2 separate regions of the Homo sapiens genome follow, and region 1 is linked to region 2. The links are contacts of gene promoters, found by promoter capture Hi-C in blood cells and fetal thymus (Javierre and others, 2016). All regions are on one chromosome and are shown on one strand. The core of a region is centred on a gene start or on the middle of the fragment in contact, and the rest is flanking DNA. Distances in the headings are between cores, read along the strand shown. Region 1 overlaps LOC107986943 (a long non-coding RNA gene). Region 2 holds the start of ALKAL1 (ALK and LTK ligand 1).

Evidence for each region. Contacts are between HindIII fragments. The CHiCAGO score rates a contact against its expected background, and 5 or more counts as called.
Region 1: a fragment that was not itself captured here is called in contact with the fragment with the promoter of ALKAL1 in region 2 in 1 of 17 cell types (endothelial precursors); the score reaches 6.2 in endothelial precursors.

Annotation. Positions count from the first base shown.
Region 1 is chr8:52,924,134-52,931,433 of GRCh38, reverse strand. LOC107986943 (a long non-coding RNA gene) reads right to left here. Exons shown (of 3, transcript XR_001745899.2): 2 at 7,264-7,300; 3 at 3,187-3,301. Among named protein-coding and RNA genes, the nearest start is that of NPBWR1, 11 kb to the left of the region's middle. The HindIII fragment of the contact is 2,578 bases long and covers 4,264-6,841 here.
Region 2 is chr8:52,559,777-52,567,006 of GRCh38, reverse strand. It overlaps ALKAL1 (ALK and LTK ligand 1), which reads left to right and starts at 1,577. Exons shown (of 5, transcript NM_207413.4): 1 at 1,577-1,940. The coding sequence starts at 1,751. RefSeq lists an enhancer at 2,345-3,321. The HindIII fragment of the contact is 9,451 bases long and covers 402-7,230 here.

The DNA of each region.
Region 1 (7,300 bases), core at 4,303-6,802, 360 kb before region 2:
AAAAATGAAAGGAAAAAGAAATTTTAAAACGTCCAATTCGGGGAACAAAGAAGTAAAACAGTTATTATTTGAAGAGGCAATAATCGTCTATGAAGAAACTTTTATGGAATCTATGAAAACACTTCTAAAATCTATAATTGTCTATAAATACTTCTAGAAGCTAGAATCTATAATTGTGTATGAAGAAAATTTTTTGGAATCTATAAAAAAATTCTAGAAAATTTTATGGAATCTGTAAAAACAAACTTGTTGGTAAACAAGTGGGTTTATCAAGATTGTAGGATATAAGATCCATTTAAAAGTTTTTTACATTTCTACATCCTATACGTTGTTAGTATGATCAGAAATTTAAATGTTTTTAAATTTAAATTTTTAAAAATACCATTTACAATACTATCAAGCAATATGACTATGTAGGGATAAATCTTACAAAAGATGTAAAAGGGCCGGGCGCGGTGGCTCACGCCTGTAATCCCAGCACTTTGGGAGGCCGAGACGGGTGGATCACGAGGTCAGGAGATCGAGACCATCCTGGCCAACGTGCTGAAACCCCGTCTCTACTAAAAATACAAAAAATTAGCCAGGTGCGGTGGCGGGTGCCTGTAGCCCCAGCTACTTGGGAGGCTGACGCAGGAGAATAGCATGAACCCAGGAGGCGGAGCTTGCAGTGAGCCAAGATCGTGTCACTGCACTCCAGCCTGGGCGACAAAGCGAGACTCCGTCTCAAAAAAAAAAAAAAAAAAAAAGTATGTAAAAGATCTGTACGCTGAAAATTATAACACATTACTTCAAGAAATTTAAAAAGACCTAAATAAATGGAAAGACATGCCATGTTTATGAGTCAAAAGACTCAATATTGTTAAGATGTTAATTCTCCCCCAAGTTGATCTTTAGATAAATGCAATCCCACTAAAAATCTTAACATGTTTTTCTGGGGGTGGGGAAGGGAGTATAAATTGAGAAACTGATTTTAAAACTCGCATGTGGCCGGGTACGGTGGCTCACGCCTGTAATCCCAACACTTTGGGACGCTGAGGTGGGCAGATCATGAGGTCAGGAGGTCGAGACCAGCCTGACCAACATGGTGAAACCCCATCTCTACTAAAAATTCAAAAATTAGCCTGGCGTGGTGGCGCATGCCTGTAATCCCAGGTACTCAGGAGGCAGAGGCAGGAGAATTGCTTGAATCTGGGAGGTGGAGGTTGCAGTGAGCCGAGATCACCCAATGCACACCAGCCTAGGTGACAGAGAGAGACTCCGTCTCAAACAAACAAACAAGCAAACAAACTCATATGTAAATGTAAGGATCTAGAATAACTGTCCAACTTCAAAAAAAGAAAAACAGGTTTGGAAAACTAGCATTACCTGATTTCAAGACTTATTATAAAGTTATAGTAATCAAGACAGTGTGGTTTCTGGTGTAAAGATAGACTATTTTAGTTAATAAAACAGAATGAAGACTTCAGAAAAAGACCCACATATCCATGGACAACTGATTTTCAACACATTCAAAGACAATTTAGTGGAGAAAGAATAGTCTTTTCAACAAATGGCACTGGAACAGACAGATATCCGCTAAACAAGAAAACGAGCTTTAAGCTATACTGCACTATATATAAAAATTAACTCAAAGGACAATATGTCTAATGTAAAATCTAAAATTACACAGCTTCTGGAAGAAAACATAGGACAAAAACTTTGTGAGCTTGAGTTAAGCTAAGGTTTCTTAGATACAACATCCAAAGCATAATCTGTTAAAGAACGAATTGATAGGCCGGGTGCGGTGGCTCACACCTGTAATCCCAGCACGCTGGGAGGCTGAGGCGGGTGGATCACAAGGTCAGGAGATCAAGACCATCCTGGCTAACACGGTGAAACCCCGTCTCTACTAAAAATACAAAAAATTAGCCGGGCATGGTGGTGGGCGCCTGTAGTCCCAGCTACTCGGGAGGCTGAGGCAGGAGAATGGCATGAACCTGGGAGGTAGACTTGCAGTGAGCTGAGATCGTGCTACTGCACTCCAGCCTGGGCGACAGAGCGAGACTCCATCTCAGAAAAAAAAAAAAAGAATTGATAAATTGGACTTAATCAAAAATTAAATACTTCTGCTTAAAGAGAATAAAAAGACAATCTACAGATTGGGTGAATATATTTGTAAGGTTCATATTTGATAAAGGATCTTTATGCAGAATATTTTTAAAATTTCTCACAATTTAGTAATGTGCAAACAAACAGTCGAATTTTAAAAATAGGCAAAATGTGTGAACAGACAATTTACCACAAAAGGTAACTGGATGGCAAATAAGCACATGAAAAGCTGCCTGACATTATAAATTATTAGGCAAATGCAAATTAAAACCTTTAAGAAATACTGCTACAACACTTATTAGAATGGCTAAAATTAAAAAGACTGATGATACCAAGTGTGGTCAAGAATACAGAGGAACTGAAACTCTCATACACTTTAGGAGTATGAAATGGCACAACCACTTTGGAAGACTGATAGTATCTTTAAAAATTAAATATACATCTACCATGTAATCCAGCCATTCTATTCCTAAGTATTTATTGTAAAGAAAAGGAGATATATGTTCATACAAAGCCTTATACATGAATGCTCATAGTAGATTTATATCTAATAGCCAAAAACTGAAAACAGCCCAAATGCTCATCAACCAGTTAATAGATAAACAAACTGCAGTATATTCATGCGATGCAATACTGCTCAACAACAAAAAAGAATAAAGAATTTATACACACTAAAACATGGATGAATCTCAAAGTAATTATGCAAAGCAACAGAAGCCAGTCCAAAAAAATAGAGTATATTCTATATGATTGTACTTACATAAAATGGCAGAAAATCTAATCTAATCTATTGTGACGGAAATCATATCAGTTTTTTTCTTGGGAAAAGGGATGGGAAGGGGAGTAGGAAAAGGAGAGACGGGGAGAGGACTAGAGGGACACAGGGAAACGTGTTGCATGTTTACTACAATATCTCAACAAAGCTATTTTTTAAATAACACATGGAAAGCCAGCAGATGGGACTTAACTACTTGAGGCAAGAAGGTGAAACTGAGACCCCTGTATATGCACAAACCCCAGTGCAGAAAAAGTCCCCCAGCAGTTCAGAGCAGAAAAGGAAAATTATACCTAGCTTAGTTGAAGGAAACAAAATCTTACCCCAAAATGAATACCTGAGCCTTTTATTTCTAATGAGTCTGGAGTCCAGATCTGCATTACACATTTGTTGCAAGAATCTCCATACCTTGAAATCAGTGTAAATACTGCTCTCCACCTGAAATCACAGCCACAGTTCTGAAGTTGGTTTTGTGTCTTTTCCATCCATGCTTTTATACTTACAGTACATTTTTTAATCCAAAGTATATTTAATATTCCTTTGAGTATTTTAAACATTTACATAAATATTATCATCATCTACCTGTGCTTCTTCACCTTGCTTTTATTCAGATTTATCTATTTGGTATGTCGTTATTTAGCTTTTCTTTTTAACCCTTTATGGTATTTTTTATTTTGCAAATACCATAGCTTGTTGTTTTAAAAATATTTTTAACTCTACTCTTGGCCACTTTTATATTTAATATTCTTATTTGTACTTTACTTTTTCTTAATATATTTTGCCAGAGGTTTGAAAGGACTATTTTAAAAGACTTCTCTAAGATTGAGCTATTTGTTTTGTTGATCCTATTCTTTATTTTTTATTAAAATTTTAAAATAATTTTTTCTTTCTTTCTTGGGCTTTTACTTTGCTGCCTTTCCAAATTCTTACAATGATTGTTTCAATGGTCACTTTTTACTTATTTTTCTATCTGCCTCAAAGTACCAATTGACCTATATCTTGAAAGTCTTATATGCACTGTGGCAGTCAGATCTTTTAAAAAATTGTCATTTTCCTTATTTCTTTTTTATCCATAAGTTATTTTGAAGTTTTTTAAAAAAATTATGTCACATGTGTTTTGACTGTCAATAGTGTTAATAGCAACAGTAATGATTACTATTAGAACTACTTTTCAGTGTTGTTTGAGAATTAAAAGAAAACGAATATAAAATACAACAGCACCGAATACTTAAAAGAACTTGATAAACATTAGCTATTATGACACAAGCCCTCTCTAATCTCATCTTCTTCCATTTTTTTTTACTTTATTTATTTTGCTCTAGTCAATTTGGACTTTTGTGTCCTTCAAACATTTAGGACTTATTTCTATCTTTGCAAAGGCCTGAGGGTAGAAATAAGCTTACTCATTCTTACTCCTCTGCCTAGGATACTCTTCACTTCCATCATCACACGGAGTTTGGGTTGTTTTCTCATGTTTAATGAGGAGAGCTTTAGAGCGAGTCTGCACCACTTACTAGCTGTGCAACCTTGCATAAATCACTTAACCTTTTTATGCCTCATGTTTTCCAACTCTTAGATTACTTTGAGGATTTAATGATAGTACAGGTAAAGAGTTAAGAATACTGCCTTGATATAATAAGTATTCATTACATCTTTTCTTTGCTCTTGCTGTTACTACTATTATTATAGGAGAAAATTGAGACAGAATAAAAGTAAATCACTTGTCCATAGCACGTCATTGGGTTGATGTTATACACAGAATTGAAAAGCCTGTCTTCGCTTTCCATCAAAGCCACTATGCTATTTTTTGGGGAAAATTTGGCAAAGACTGTCTCTGTCTTGATGCTCCTTCATACTCTCAGAAGTAAAGTACTAAAACCCCAATTGTGGATTTTGACATTTTCCTGTATATGTGATATCTGGTTATGATTTTAGGATGCATATGTAAGTCATCACATTAAATGATGTTTGTGTAATAATGCTAATAGGAAAACTCAGGAAAAATACTCAATTCAAAGTCAGAAACATCTTTTGGTCAAAGTATTAAAGTTCTGTTTCATAAAATGTGCAAAGTGAAAAAATACAAGAAGGAGACATCTAGTTCACTTTGACATGTAAAAAGTTTGGGAGTCATCACTCATGTCCTCATAGCAATGGCAAAGTTGGGCTCTGAAAATCACCAACTGTTCTTAGATCCACCCAAAAATTGAGGATGGAGGGCAAGCCACCAGTCCAAAACTCTACAGAGAGAGAGATAGGTGGATACAGAGGATCACAGCTGACAGGGGGTGGAGGCACAACTAAGGCCAGCAACTGGTTGAAACACTGAAGGAATGATTGACCAATTGCTGAAGAATGAGCATGGACTAGATTGAGAGAGAAAAACTTCTGTGGGCACAGCCTTAGGAGGTCCCCACACTTTTATCACTTTTACCACCAGGAATCCCACCAGGTTCTCACTATGAAGATAAAATAAAAATTCCTTCCAGCTTCCTGCATGGGGAGGGGAAAGGCAACAATTTTGAAATACATCCAGAGCTTCTGTTCTTCTTAGCAAAGGCTTGCCCTCAATGGAAGCTACTTTACCAGCCTAACTCATGTGGAGTAAGGGAAATACCCAACTTCAGCCTCTTCTAACCTTCATCGCTAGGAGAGGGAAATACCTAACTCCAGCCTCTCCAGCCTTACTGACTCACCTAAGACGGTTAGAGGAGAAGCTAAGAAGTATTTGTTAGGGTCACCTCTCCAAATGCATAGGTTCACTAAAAAACAGAGATCTAATCAAAGGACTATAGAATGCCTCTTCTCCCTCTACATTTTACTACCATGTCATTGGAGCTGCTTCTGTATAATAGCAGGGAAATATAACTGAAAGAATTGCATGTCACAGATGCTATTTAAGGAGAGGTCACTAGGGAAACCCATAAACAACAGAGGAGACAAAAACAAGGGTGATAGAATAAATTTTAGCTTCTGACACCTATAGCTACAACAAGCAGTAAATGGAGCCTAACTCCTAGCCAGATTAAGTTTAAAACTTCATTAACGAAAGTTCCCTTCGCACAACACATCATGTTTGGATTTTAACAAAAAATTACAACAGACACCAAAAGACAAAATACAGTCTGAAGAGGCAAAGCAAGCATCAGAATTAGCTTCAGATATGGCAGAGATTTTGGAACCATCAGACTTGGAATTTAACTACAATTAATATGCTAAGGGCTCTGACTTAGTTCAGGCTGCTACAACAAATGGTTGCAGAACTTTTCCTTAGTTCAGCTAAAGATGGGATCCTTGTCTGTCCCACGGCCATGAAAATTTAGGCTTGCAGATGGTTTGAAATATGAGTAAAGCAGGGTTTTATTGGGTGGAAAGGGAAAAAAGTGGGGGAAACAGGGATCCTCTCCAAGGCCAGAGTCCCTGTTAGAGTGCTTCCCACCCGCAGCTCAAATCCCAGGTTCCAAAGAGGAAGAGGAGGAGCCAGGCTCCTCCCCACTGCAAAGGGCATGAACCTCCTGAGGCTCCACCCCAGTGCACAGGACGGTTGGAGTTTTTCTGAGGACCTCCTCCAACCTGGCTCTCTCAAAACTACTATGGTTTGGGTGGCCTAAACAACAGAAAGTTTCTTCTCACCATTTTGGAGGCTGAAAGTCTGAGATCAGGGTGCCAGCATGATTGAGTTCTAGGTGTGGACCCTATTCCTGATTTACAGATGTCCAACTTCTTGCTATTCTTACACAACAGAGAGAGAAAGTGGTAAGATCTATTTCATTCTCTTCTTACAATGGCACTGATCCCTAACCCTCATGACCAAATTACCTCCCAAAGGTCCCCACCTCCAAATATCATCACACTGGGGATTAGAGATTCCACATATAAATTTGGGACAGGAGCACATATATTCAATAGGCTCTAATGGACACAGTAGATATACAGAAGAAGAAATACCAAAGAAGATATACAGATGGCAAATAAGCTTATGGAAAATGGTCAAAGCTCTCTATCTTTAGAAAGTTGTAAGATAGGTAATAATGAGATACAGCCACATACCTAATACAAAACCCTGACAACACCAAATGTTGGTGGACAAGAACTCTCATTCATTGCTAGTGAGAATACAATGTGATACAGCCACTTTGGAAGACAATGTGGCCATTTCTTACAAATCTAAATATAGTCTTATAATGCCATCTAGTAAATGTGCTCCTAGATATTTAGACAAATCACTTAAAAATTTATGCCCACACAAGAACCTGCATGTGAATGTTTATAGCAGCTTTATGCAGAATTGCCAAAAGGTGGCAGCAACCAAGATGTTCTTCAGTAGGTGTCTGGATAAACAAACTGTGATATATTCATACAATGGAATATTATTCAGTGATAGAAAGAAGATATCATACCATGAAGAGACATGGAGGAAACTGAAGTGTATATTGC
Region 2 (7,230 bases), core at 328-2,827:
AGTATCACTTATTCTCCAGCATTATTTCATACTGCATTTCCCCATCGTTTTTCGGACTAGTCCCTATTTTTTTATTTTCCAATTAAAATTAATTTTTGAACTGCCTGTCAATGTCTGTGAACTTCTAATGTTTTCTTATTTCACTTCAGTAGAGCTGTGAGAAAGCGTTTATTCCACCTAAGTAGGGCCTTCAGACCCTTAACCTGTTTTTCTAGGAAGACTCTTGTGGGTCTCCCTTGGTGGAAGCCATTCTCTTACACTGCTGTGTTTGCTTAGGAAATACCAGATTCCTATGCGTGCTTAACAGTGAAACGATTGGAAGAAGCAGTCTTCACCTGTGTAACAACTTCCTCAAAAGAGCTTCATCCAAAGGCACGATTTCACAGGGCTCCTGCAAAGCTTGCTTTGCTTCCCAATTTCTTAGGCATGTTGGACATGCCAAGCCTAGATAAACTATTTGAAGGAGTTGAGGTCATTATTCAGGATCTGTGACCCACAAGATTTCTTTTTGTAGAGTAATGTAACGTTGGGCACCGCCTAAGGAGTAATGGAGCCTCAGTTCCCTTAGTTATTCCTGCCTTTTTCCTTTCACCTGTTTGCACTTTGCATATGAGGAGATAATTAGTAGTCAATTGATTAGCGAGCAATTTCAACATTTTTCAATATACTTAACATAAAGCAATAAAGCAGGCGGCTGAAACAACTAAAACAACAACAGTTTACAGAGCGCGGTTTGATCAGAGAGGCGCACTTTAATCAGAACGACTGGCCTTAATTTCATTTTTTAAGTTGTTAACACTAAAACTCTTTATAAGAGTTCCCTAATTTGAAGAAAAATCCAGCCGGCTGCTTTTTTGGGCGCACTGGTCAACCTTGGCGATTTCACCTGGGGAAGCACTGAAACCGGCCACTCCCCCCAGGGAGGCCAGGGGAGCTGGGCGCGTGTCCCCGGTGCCCAGCCCCAGACCTCTTCCGCCCGCCGCTCCCCCACGCGGAAGAGAACGCGGTGCTGCGCCTAGGAGAGCAGGTCGGGCCTCCAGACCTGGGGCAGGGGCGGCTGGCGTGACGGCGTGGCCAGTGTTCCTGAGCGAGCAGGGGCTCGGCAGCAGAGCGCACCCCGCACCTTTGAGCCCAAGGCGCGGAGATCTCCGCTCATCCAGGCCGCACCCCGGCCCTGCTTTTTTCCGTCCGGACCTAGGCGCCGCGGGTTCTACTGACCCCGCCAGCCAGGGGAAGCCGTGACGGACCCCGAGGCTCGGGGGGTGGAGGCGGCGGGAGACAGAGCCCAGGGAGAACCGCCGGGGCGACGCGGCAGTTACCCTACTGGGTCCTCCCGGGGACGGCGACCAGAGAGCGAGCCCGGGGTCCGGATCCGAGGCAGGCGTTGCGCAGGGAGCCCTGAGACCCGCTGAGTCCGAGGCTGGTGCCCGCCCGGCCCAGCGCGGACTTCCGAGGGTCCCGCGCGCTGGGACACGCCCTCATCCTGGGGGACGACCCCGTGGCCCCAGGCACCGCCTCCCGTTCCCGCCCCGCGCCCCGCAGCGCTTAGGCTTCGGCACACTGAGGACCGAGTCCCAGTGCAGCTCCAGCCGACCCCCGGGACGTAGACAAGGGCAGGCGCGCGGTGAAGACTGCGGCCGGCCGCGTAGCCGCGCTGTGGTCCCGCTGGCCTTCTCTTGGGCCGCGCACCCTCCGGACCTGCGTCGGGATCCTCCCGGAGTCTCCCGCTCTCTCCTCCCGGCTTGCGAACATGCGGCCCCTTAAGCCCGGCGCCCCTTTGCCCGCACTCTTCCTGCTGGCGCTGGCTTTGTCCCCGCACGGAGCCCACGGGAGGCCCCGGGGGCGCAGGGGAGCGCGCGTCACGGATAAGGAGCCCAAGCCGTTGCTTTTCCTCCCCGCGGCCGGGGCCGGCCGGACTCCCAGCGGCTCCCGGAGCGCAGGTACGATGTCCCCATCCCGCCCCATCCTTTGCCCTGCGCCTGGGGCTCCGTGGATTCCCCTAGGAGCTGGGCGAGGCACTCGCTTTGGGAAGCCTGAGATTAGTACAGCAGAAAACAGAGCATCTCTGCAGATTCCCAGCTCTCGGAAAGAGGTCGTAAGCGAATTAGATTTACCACGGTTGAGAGTTAAGTAAAGAAATCCGGCTGGCAATGGGATCAGCTTTCTATGTCCCTTCCCAGGTGTAGGAGGACTTTTTGGAAATAAACTGGTAAAGCAGCTCAAAGACATGGGTTTCAGTCCCACCGACCGAGGGGTGGTGGACAGGTTAGGTCCCTGTCAGCACCCCATTTCTGGATCTTCCGGGGTTTTGAGAATTAACTAAGATTGCTGTCCGTAGACACCTGACCGTGCCAGGAATGCCCCTTTCCCCTCCCCTTTCACGCTGGCCGCAGCGAGTGGCTGAGGAAGCGCCAGTTTCAGCAGGCGGCGGCTTATGTTACTGGCACCTTTCCTAGATCATTTTAGAAGGGCAGCCGGCTGCTCCCAAATCAACTTTGGACAGTCAGGTTCCTGCTACTTAGATGCCCGAGGGGAGTGGAAGGAATGAGGGAGGAAAAAGTCGCTGCTCTAGAGGGTCATGAGACATCCACAGGCAGAGAAGTCGTGTGAATACGGGGAACACGGAAAAGCCCCTGGAAAAGGAGGTCCGAGGGGGCGGCCGGGCACTTGGGGCAGCGCTGGAGGGAGGAGGGCAGGACACGCAGGAAAGGAAGGTGGGGACAGAAGCGAGAAGCTCCTCACACGTTTCTGTTCACACCCAGCAAGAGCAGAGCAAGGTGAAGCTGCCGGCGAGGCTGGGACAGAAGGGCCCCTCTGCGGGGACATTTGGTGGCCTCCACCGGGCTTGGGAAGAGGAGAGGGCCTAGGGTGGCCTGGGGATGCCTCGCAGCTAGCGGCTGGCCGTGGGACCACAGCTCCTGATCCCTTCTCCTCAGGCTTTATGGCTAAGAAAGCAAACAAGGGCTTCTTAGTATGATTTTTCTTTCACAATAGTTGTGATATAAATATATACTTATTCACTCCACAAACTTTCTTCGAGTTCCTGTCTGTCACCATGCAGAGGGCGGAGGCCACCCAGAGGAGCAGACAGCAGTGTCTGCACTCTCCCACACACCTGGGTGTGGAAGGAGGCGCTGGTGCACACCTGCACTAAGTGAGCAGGGTGTCCTGCCCTGGGGAGGGGATGGAGAAGGTGGGAGGCTGAGGTGGGCTGCCCAGCTGGTGTGTGGACAACCCGGGCAGAGCCTCTCAGTCCAGCCGGCCACTGGGGAGCCCTCAGGAGGGGAGGGCACAGGGTCAGTGTCCGCAGCACGGCCATGCAGCAATGGTGCACACAGATCATGCACTTTGACTTAAAATTATTGTTAGCCTAAAATATTTATCTCAGAGAATAAAATGTCACTTTGGAATGTGAAAGGACTGGGAGAAAGGCTCTCAAAGTACAGAAACATGGAGGGCACACATTCATTCAGACCTTCTGTTTCATTCAACAGATCTTTTCTCTTTGATTCAGACAGTGAAGACTTACTGAAGTGAGTTACAAGGGATAAAACAATATTTTATTTATTTATTTAGAGACGGAGTTTCGCTCCTGTCTCCCAGGCTGGAGTGCAGTGGCGTGATCTCGGCTCATTGCAACCTCCGCCTCCCGGGTTCAAGCCATTTTCCTGCCTCAGCCTCCCACGTAGCTAGGATTACAGGCGCACCACCACGCCCGGCTAATTTTAATTTTTATTTTTTTGTAGTTTTAGTAGAGATGGGATTTCACCATGTTGCGCTAGGCTGGTCTCGAACTCCTGACCTCAAGTGATCTGCCTGCCTTGGCCTCCCAAAGTGCTGGAATTACAGGCATGAGCCACTATGCCCGGCCATAGTTAAAAGCGGCAACCATCTGAAGTTTTAAACAACAATATAGTCAGACAGAAAGTGCCCTGTGGGCACCCTTAAAGCCATTGCTTTCTGTGACTGTAGTTGTCTAATTTTTTGATTGCTATACTACATTCACAAGGGGAGAAAAGGGTGGCTCATGACATCCGTATCTGAGTCTGTGAATGGAGTACTTGCACATGGATCAGGAACAAACAGGGACATGAGAATATAGAGGACAAGGGCCTATCTGGATGTTCTCACGGGGTGCACTCAGCAGGTGGCAGGGGTTATCGTTCATTCAGGAGGAAAATATCTCGCAGGTCCGGGAGGCCAAGGACTCTCATCTCTGCCAGATGTGCCTGGAATGATGGCCCCATATTTCTGTAGTGACGTAATAAGCACCATCACCCAGGCCTAACGTACCTGTTCTAGGTTCAGAAATCTTTGCTGCCCCTGCACTTGCTCTGTCTGCCTTTTTCTGTAGGCCAGGCAACTTCCCTAAATGCAGATGTGAGCTGGAGGTGGGGGGATCATTTCCAGGTAGAGGGAGTAGTAACCAGGAAACCCTGAGGCAGGAGGGACCAGACAGCATGCCCCGAGGATTGCGGAGAGTGGGGGACTGTGTTAGGTTCCCAGGAACACTCCTGATTCACCGTCCTTGGCCCTCCTTCCTTCTCACAGCCCATTTGTTCGTGCCTGTATCCGTCCTCTCATTTAGCAATTTAACACACAGCTGAGGTCGTTGGGATGGGCAACATTGTTGACCATTGTGCTTGAGGAGCACAATTCAGTTCATAATTCCTGCCTGCGATGTCTCTCGAATCTGGGTCTTCCTTTTTAGTGTCCTTCCCACCACTCTAGTTCAGACCCTCTTGAGAGTTTTACGGTGACCTTCTCGATCATCTCCAACTCTATTAGTGCCCCTGACAGTGTGTCCTACTGGGATAAGAATTCCCAGTAACCTTCGCTCCTGCTCTCTCATTCCTCTTTCCTCCTCCCTTTGTCTTTGGTCACTGCGCCACCAGCAGGATGGCACAAACAAGGGACCATACCTCAAACCCTGCCAAAGGAAAGAAACATCAGAGCACTCACCCACTGAAAGGAAAACAGAATCAGAAGGCTGAGAATAGGGCCGTGGTGGGAGTAGAGAGGAGGTTCAGTTTTTGACAGAAAGGAAATTGGCTTGAGATGTGGGAGGCAGCAGTGTAAGGGTACTGTTAGCAACTATTGATGTATATGATGTTTCTTTTGCTACCTCTGCCTTTTCAAGAGATTTCAGTAAATGTTTACCTTATTTCTACAGGCTTTCTGGAGTCAGATTTGTGTTGTTGTGCTTGCTGTTGCTGTTTTAATATAAAACCTCACTGACATGGAGCTTAAGGAGAGAATGTGAAGGGGTTTTGATGAGGTTATGCTGAACAATGGCAAATCAACGTGCTTAATAAGTAGCATGGGGCTGGTCTCTTCCTGGTCATAAATCTGCTGTGGTTTCTCTTGATTTTCCAGGAAGGTCCTAGCTTCCTTGGAAAGAAAGGCAGATATTCAAGTCCTTTTGTGCCACCTCCTCTTACCTTTCGGCAGCTCTCAGGAGCTACTGTAAGTGCCTCTGTGCCAGTCCCAGGCTTGGTACCCCCTCCTTACAGAGGCCATTCTGCCTGTGCTTAACGCTATTCCTCCCTCTCCTGAAATGCACTTCTCTTACCTCTGCCTGCTGGAATTCTATTCATCCATCTAGGCCCCCTTCCTTTGTACTGTCTTTGCAGTTCGGTTATTTATGCGTTCAGATGCGTCTTAAACCATAAATTCACTTTGCAAATATCCCCAAAGATCTGATGAAAGTTAAAAAAAACTAGACATACTTAAATACTGCAGGGGCTTGCGTAATAGTGGGATTTTATTTGTACAGCCCAAATTCTCTCTATTGCAAGTCTGTGGCTATTATATCTGCCCACTTAGACAGTTATACCTGGTGAGTAACAATTTATTTCACATAAATAATAAAAAATTTTTGCTGCTTTGCATATCACCTGGGAGGGGGGTATGGATGGGTACTTTTTTTTAAAAATCATTTTTTGTTGTATATATTTAAAGTGTGCAACATGATATTTTGTTATATGTAGGCACAAGAAATGATTACTACAGTCAAACAGATGAACATAGCCATCATCTTCCATTTTAATATTTTTATTATGTTATTTGCAGGGTTACTTGAAGCTATTTATTTTACTGAAAACTGTTAGTATGGGGAGAGGTCAAAGTGAAAAGGTTATATATGATTTTTCACCAAGTAGATTTGGCAGGTTATATATATGACCAGACGTCTGTTGGGCATGGGGCTGCTAGCTAGCAGGATCATAAATACTCATTCTGAGATGCCAAAGCTAACTTAGAGGAATGAGTTTCTGCCCATTCACAGTATTTCTTGTAGGAATTGTGGCCTTTCTGCAGGAGCCTATTTATCGAGCTGCTAAGTGAGGAAATTCTGTGCAGAGGTCAACAGAATCACCCACTGTGGGGTTCTCTTTGCCTGAAATGACCCAGTCCCAGGAGACTACTTTCCAATCACATATTGGTTAGGAAAACCTAGGATTAAAACAATTCCTTTTTAATGGCAATTTTTTTCTTTGGCCTTCAGTTTTATTGCTGGAAATGACATTTGAGAGCAGATTTCTAAGATCTTTGTTGCTGTGTAGGAGGATAGAAAAACGTGGCCAGGTGATATTTCCTTCGACTATTTGCCATTGTAGAAAACGTCACAGTAGTGGGTAGTAAGTAGAGTGTCTGGAGTTTAAATATTTCTTATAACTCCATTTATATATCTAACAACATAAACTGCCAGGAAATAATAGCTACAATATTTATATCATACGTGAAAGATGTGTAGTCTTTTACATATTAATAAAATTAAAATTTTATTAAATGTGTTTTACTTGGAGTTATTGTTAGGCTTTTTGATTTGATGATATCGTTCATTGATGATTTCTTTCTCTGTTGAACACAGATAGCGTTTTTTTCTTCCTACAGCACACCTCACACTGAAACTCATATTAGTTTGATATTATATTATTCTATTTGAATGTGAGCCTCTTTAAGTTGAAGACTAGGGGTTACTCGGTTTTTAATATCCCATAGCCTACCAAAGTCATTGTGTAAATTCTTCTTTTAGGAAGAATTACTTTTTTCAGAAGAAATTGAATTTTAAAAAAGAAACTTTGCAGGTTTCTTTAACTTTGAAACTAAAATAATTTGAATTTTAAAATATTTATTTATTGATTTATAGATACATAATTGTGGACATATAGAATTAAAATTTTTATTTTCCCCAAAGCTAAAGCAGACCTATTGTCTTATTTACTTCCT